2 separate regions of the Homo sapiens genome follow, and region 2 is linked to region 1. The links are contacts of gene promoters, found by promoter capture Hi-C in blood cells and fetal thymus (Javierre and others, 2016). All regions are on one chromosome and are shown on one strand. Each heading gives the region's core, a stretch centred on a gene start or on the middle of the fragment in contact. The rest is flanking DNA. Distances are from core to core; before and after follow the strand shown.

Evidence for each region. The method cuts DNA at HindIII sites, captures the fragments that hold promoters and counts their contacts. A CHiCAGO score of 5 or more calls a contact.
Region 2: a contact is called between a fragment that was not itself captured here and the fragment with the promoter of TERF1 in region 1, in 1 of 17 cell types (endothelial precursors). The highest score is 7.2, in endothelial precursors.

The regions. Positions count from the first base shown.
Region 1 is chr8:73,007,313-73,010,411 of GRCh38, reverse strand. TERF1 (telomeric repeat binding factor 1) reads right to left here and starts at 1,548. Exons shown (of 10, transcript NM_017489.3): 1 at 1,207-1,548. The coding sequence starts at 1,525. RefSeq lists silencers at 1,603-1,652, 1,683-1,782. The HindIII fragment of the contact is 9,695 bases long and covers 1-3,099 here.
Region 2 is chr8:72,315,279-72,318,377 of GRCh38, reverse strand. No RefSeq gene overlaps it. Among named protein-coding and RNA genes, the nearest start is that of KCNB2, 220 kb to the left of the region's middle. RefSeq lists an enhancer at 1,538-1,587. The HindIII fragment of the contact is 697 bases long and covers 1,173-1,869 here.

The sequences.
Region 1 (3,099 bases), core at 299-2,798:
AGAACTCTAAGAGAATTCTGAGGAACTAGCTTCATTCCAGGATTTAATTTTCTACTTAATGTTAATTATCCCTGGCTCCAGTGTTAACCGCAATACAGAGGAAAGATCCTTGAACTGGAAGATAAAGGATGGGGCTGAAACACTCCCTTTTAACCTATCAGTACCTTAAAACTAAGATTATTTGCCTAACTCACAGGATTATGGTGAAGATGAAATGTGTCAAAATGTCTAAGAATTCTATTAAATAGCATAATTATAGTATTATAAATATATACTTGCACAGTAATTTTAGCGCCAACTATGAATGAAGTACCAGAACATCTTTCTGTTGTTTTTCAAAAAGCTACACTAGGCCAGGCGCGGTGGCTCATACCTGTAATCTTACAGCTGCGGGTGGTGGTGCACGCCTGCAGACCCAGCTACTCCAGAAGCTGAAGCGGGAGGATACCTGAGCCTGAGGAGGTCGAGCCTGCAGTGAGCTGTGATGGCGCCACTACACTCTCCAGCCTGGGTGACAGTGAGACCCCATCTTGGGACGGGGGCGGGGTGCAGCAGATTTCATGAACAGTTTCATTCATTCATTTATTTATTCATACAGGGTATCACTCTGTTACCCAGGCAGGACTGTAGTGGCACGATCTCGACTCACTGCAACCTCTGCCTCTTGGGTTCAAGCGATCCTCCCACCTCAGGCTCCCAAGTAGCTGGGACTTGCAGGCATGTGGCCAACATTTACTTTTATTCTGAGACTACACAGAATAAAAGTAACTGCTGTAGAGCCAGCAGGCCAAATGAGATTTAATAGCTCACAAATTAACATAAAACACTGATGCCTCGGGGGTTACTGGAGGCCACAGGGACTGCTGAATATTACTACAGGAATACCTGAGTAGAAAGCGCCAAAAGAGACAAAGGTACTGGGTTGAGTGGAACTGTATACATTTTAACTCATTTAATGCTTGCATCAAACCTAAACAGGGTCTTATTTTCATTTTATCGAAGAGGAAATCAATCTGAGAAAAACTCAGGTGCTGACAACGGGCGAACCGGGATTCGAACAAAGTTCAGCCCGGAGCCTCGGACTCCCAGCTAATCGGCCGCAGCAGCCCCTCCCTCGGCGACGTAGGGAACCAGCCCTCTGCCGCGCACCACGGAGCCCGCATCCGCCCCCCGCGTAGTCCCGGCCCGGACGCGGTCTGCACTCACCCTCTGCGCTGTTGCGGGTCCTGCGGAAGTCCTCGGAGCGGCCGTCGCGGAAAGCTCGGCAAAGAGAGAGGCAGAGGAAATCGAGCATCCAGCCGGCAGCCACGGCCTCGGCCTCGGCCACCAGGCCCGCGTCCTCCTCCTCCTCCTCCTCCTCCTCGGGGGCCCCCACCTGCACCTGGCACTCGAGCAGTTCCTGGCATTCGAACTGCTCCTCGTCGTTTCTCTCTGTTTCTGCCATCTGCTCCTCAGTAGGGTCGGCATCCCTACCATCCGCACAGCCCCGCGGGCTCGGGGCCGCTGAGGAAACATCCTCCGCCATGTTAAATGGCTCGCTTGGGTACTGCCCCTTCAGGCGCCGAGCAACGATTGGCTCGCATTCGAGGGCTCGGGGCGTGGCCGCGGAGAGTCTCTTCCGCCGGCGGGACATGGGCGAGCGGTTCAAGCCTGGCTTCTGATTGGCCGACACCTGTTCCGGCTTCTGATTGGCCGACACCTGTTCCTGCCTCTGGGCGTTGAATTTGCCGCCAGTCTAGGGCAGGGCTTTGTAGGTAAACCGGACGACTCCATACTGAGCGAGGAGCGAGATTAGGATAGGAGGAGGCAGCTTTATCTTCCTTATTCCTTGTAAAATGCAACCTTGACTGGAACAACAACACGGTTATTTAAAATGAAAACGCATTTGCCTGCAGCCTATTTCAGAAAGAGATGGGTAATGAGAACTTGTCACTATTAGACAAGCGTAACACTTTTAAACCCTAGTTTTCATCTAACAGTTACTACGTGATCACGAACAACAACTATTACAACTGACAATATCCATGCTTCTCCAACCTTAAGATGCATCAGAATCAGCCTGGGGGCTTGCTAAAACACAAATTGCCGGGCTCCACTCCCAGAATTCCTGTTCTGCTGGTCTAGCTTGGGATCCTTGAATTTGAAAGTCCAACGCTACTTGGCTGGGCACCACATTTTGAGATCAGTGCTCTAGAAAGAGTATACTATAATGGAAATGTATCTCAATCAAGGTTTGAGATCGACTATAGAATGCAGTTTGTAGAAAACAAGTGAATGCTTATTTTGAATTTTGAAACTTAGCACAAAAAGAAATTCTAAATGGGGATGGGTGGTCTGGTTATTGTTTTTGTTTTTTGTTTGTTTTTTTTTTTTCCTTTGAGACAGGATTTCGCTCTGTTGCTCAGGCTGGTCTCCAACTCCTGGCTTCAAGTTATCCTCCTGCCAAAGTGCTGGGTTTACAGGCCTGAGCCACAACGCCTGGCTCCGTTTTCTGTTCCTTGATGTGGGTTCACTTTATGAAAATTCACTGAACATCGTTTATGCACTTTTCAGTATGTGTGTCATAATTGAATAAAAAGTTTATTTTAAAAGCCTTTCTGTTTATAACGCATCCAGCATCATCAAAGCCTTTCCACATTTTCACACACTTCTTGTTATTGTCTTTAAGGTGGTACAGTTTAAGTGTTGAGTAACTAAGGCACTGTATTCTAGTATTAAGAATGCTTAGGTTGGAATATTCCCTACCAGTTACTCACTAGCTGTGTGACCTTGGGTAAATTACGTGTCAGTTTTCTTGTCCGTATAATGTGAATAATAATAATACCTGCACGATTAAAGGGCTTGGTAAATGTAAAGAGTTTAAAACAGCCGGGCGCAGTGGCTCACACCTGTAATCCCAGCACTTTGGGAGGCTGAGGCGGGCGGATCACCTGAGGTCAGGAGTTCGAGACCAGCCTCAACATGGAGAAACCTCGTCTCTACTAAAAATACAAAATTAGGCGGGTGTGGTGGTGCATGCCTGTGATCCCAGCTACTCGGGAGGCTGAGGCAGGATAATTGCTTGAACCCGGGAGGCGGAGATTGCGGTGAGCCGAGATC
Region 2 (3,099 bases), core at 272-2,771, 690 kb after region 1:
CCTCACAAAAGCACTCAGAAAACATTTGGTTAAATACCTGGGCATCCCATGGTCCAGTCAAGTTGACACATACAATTAATCATCACACTCTGTATTGCTTAAAACATATAATGCTGAAAGTGCATGTTAAATCTCCAAAATTGGCAGTGGTAAAAAATATGAAACATACATAATAGTGAAAACGTATGAACCAAAACATTGATTTAATCAATGTTTACTGTGACTATGTAAATGCCAAGCCCCACTGTTCTAGGCACACGATATAAGGTGGCAAACAAAGACAGTTTTCTAGGCCTGACAGAATTTACACTCAGTGAAAGACTGAGAGTAAAAGAATAAGCATATATTTACAGGACATGATTTCAGGGAGACACAAGTGCTGAGAGGAAAAGCAAAGTAGGCCCAATGGAGAGGGACTAGGTGGGTTGACAATCTGGACAGCCAGGATGTGAGGAGAGGAAAAGGCTGTCTTTATAGTTAATATTTTAGCAAAGACAGTAATGATGTGAAGGAGTGGGGCAGACAGAGATACAGGGAGGAGCATTCCAGGCAGAGGGAACAGTTCCTGAGATGGGAACAGATTAGTGCACTTGAGGACTAGCAAGAAGGCCAGGGTGGCTGCAGAACCACTTAGTAGTAGGGGTGCAGTTGGAGATTGCCAGAAGCCAGATCAGATAGGGAGCAATTAGCATTCATCAATTATCAATTAATAAGCATCTCTGCATCAATGTTTTCATTCTCAACTTCTTCCTTTATTTAATACATTAGAAGCACACTAAAAACCATAGAATAGAAAAAAAAGGAAAAATACCACAAAATTTGAAAATGTCTACAAACACTATGTTAATACACAACATGCCGCAAGGACACGAGTTTCCAGTTAAATAAGCAAATAATTATATTGAAGATAAACGTATCTCAGCATGAGAACATTTTACTTTTAGTTGAATATTTAAGTACTGAGTTAAATGTTTCATATTACTAGTTTCTGGATCATGGATTGCTTTGCATTGGTTCTTACTAGAAGTGTTAGCACTGTACTAGTTTCCAGATGTTAAAAAACTTTGATCATATGCATGGCCTTCTAGAGAAAAATGAAGGTAAATACTATAGTTTCATGTATTTCTGAAATATTTAGAGATAAAGAGGAACTTCTGCGGAATATTTAAGCTTGTTGTTTCCCAAAATGCATCTCCATGAAGCCTGAGAATCTGTCAGTCTTATTACGTTAGGAAAATGTAAACTACTTTAAGGATTTAAACTAGAAGAGATATAATATAGTGAATGACTTATAAAGTGATTAGGAAGGCTGAAGAACAAAAAGGAGAAGTAGGGGATGCTAGAGGGATTTTTTTAAAAAGGGAGAGAAATGAGAGTAAAAGGTCAGAAAGCAGCTAGTACCCCTAACTGGAACCTATGTGTTGCACTTGATTTTTGTGCTGTGGGTAGCTCTGCAGCTGCCAGCACTGGAAATGCTGAGAAGCTATTCTTTCTGACAACGTTGGAATCAAAGAGTGGTCACCAAGGTAGTAGAGTCACCAGAGAGGTGGTGCACTTCCTAGGCTGCTGGACTCACAGCAGCCCACCCCTTCTTGCACTGCCTTCATTGCCGGCAACTGTCACTACTGTCAGAGCAAGAACCACACAGGTTCTATTTTCTGGTCTCCTCCAATGCCTCCCATTGGCAGAACAAACAGGAAGCCAGCTGGCAAAGGCATCTGGGAAATGTAGTTTTCAATTCCCAAGCCCAGCAGCATTGATCAAAGAATAGAAATGTGTGGGAGCTAAGACCAAACAGAAAAATAACCAGCCCAGCCCAACCATTTGGCTAGTCAATATTCAAACACTGCCTTTACCCACATTTAAGCTTCCAGACAGCAATAACACCCTCTTTATGCTTCCACCTAGTATGATGCAATTAAGCCTTGTACAAGTGAAGATGGTCTTACCCCCTCTTAAAAACAAGCTGAGATACAAAGATCCACCAATCATGTTATTCATCTCTTGCTCAGGCACAATCTCATCTGATTATTCTGTACCCAAGAGTCCAAATTATTAAGTAAACCACCACAGGACTCATAATATAAAATTGTAATGAAAAGAAAGGAGATTAGCTAATATTTATATATGTGAATATAACAAGTGCATTATTTACCTATTCCTGTATAGCAAATTACCCCAAGATGTAGGAGCTTAAAATGAAAAAACATTATCTTTCACCAGTTTCTGAGAATCAAGAATCAAGAAGTGGCTTAATGATAGTTCTGGCTCAGGGCTTCTCATAAAATTGCAGTCAAGATGTTGGCCAAGGCTGCAGTCATCTTGACATAGTTTGGCTCTATGTCCCCACCCAAATTTCATGTTGAATTGTAATTCCCAGTGTTGAATGATGCGCCTGGTGGCAAGTGCTTGGATCATGTGGGCAGAATTCCCCCTTGCTGTTCTCATGATAGTGAATGAGTTCTCACAAGATCTCACAAGATTGTTTAAAAAGCTGTAGCACTTCCCTCTTCCCTCTCTGTCTCCTGCTCCACCATGGTAAAATGTGCTTGCTTCCCCTTCCCCTTCCATAATGATTGCAAATTTCCTGAAGGCTCCCAGGCATGCAGGAGTATGCATGGAATGTACAGCCTGCAGAATTGTGAGTCAGCTCGAGCTCTTTTCTTCAAAAATTACGCAGTCTTAGGTAATTCTTTATAGCAGTGTGAGAATGGACTAATCCACATCTGAAGGCTGGACAGGAGCTGAAGGATTCATTTCTAAGGTCATGCACATGGTTGTTGTCTGGAGTGTTTAGATCCTTGCCATGTAGGCTCTTCCTTGGGACTCTTCATGACCTGGTAGCTGGCTTCTGCCAGAGCAAGAGGTGAGAGAGAGGGAGAAAGAGAGAGAAAAAAAATGAGAAAAGAGAAGGGGAGGGAGAGAGAGAGAGAGAGAATGGAAATACCAGGAGTCAGGAATCACTGGGACTTTCTTGGAAGCTGGCTACCAAGACAAACAAGAAATAAAATATACATGGCTGCTATAATTGTTTCCGTAACATGTCATAAGGCTGAAGTTGATATCTATAACTTCCTGTCCCACTACCCTTTCTCTGTT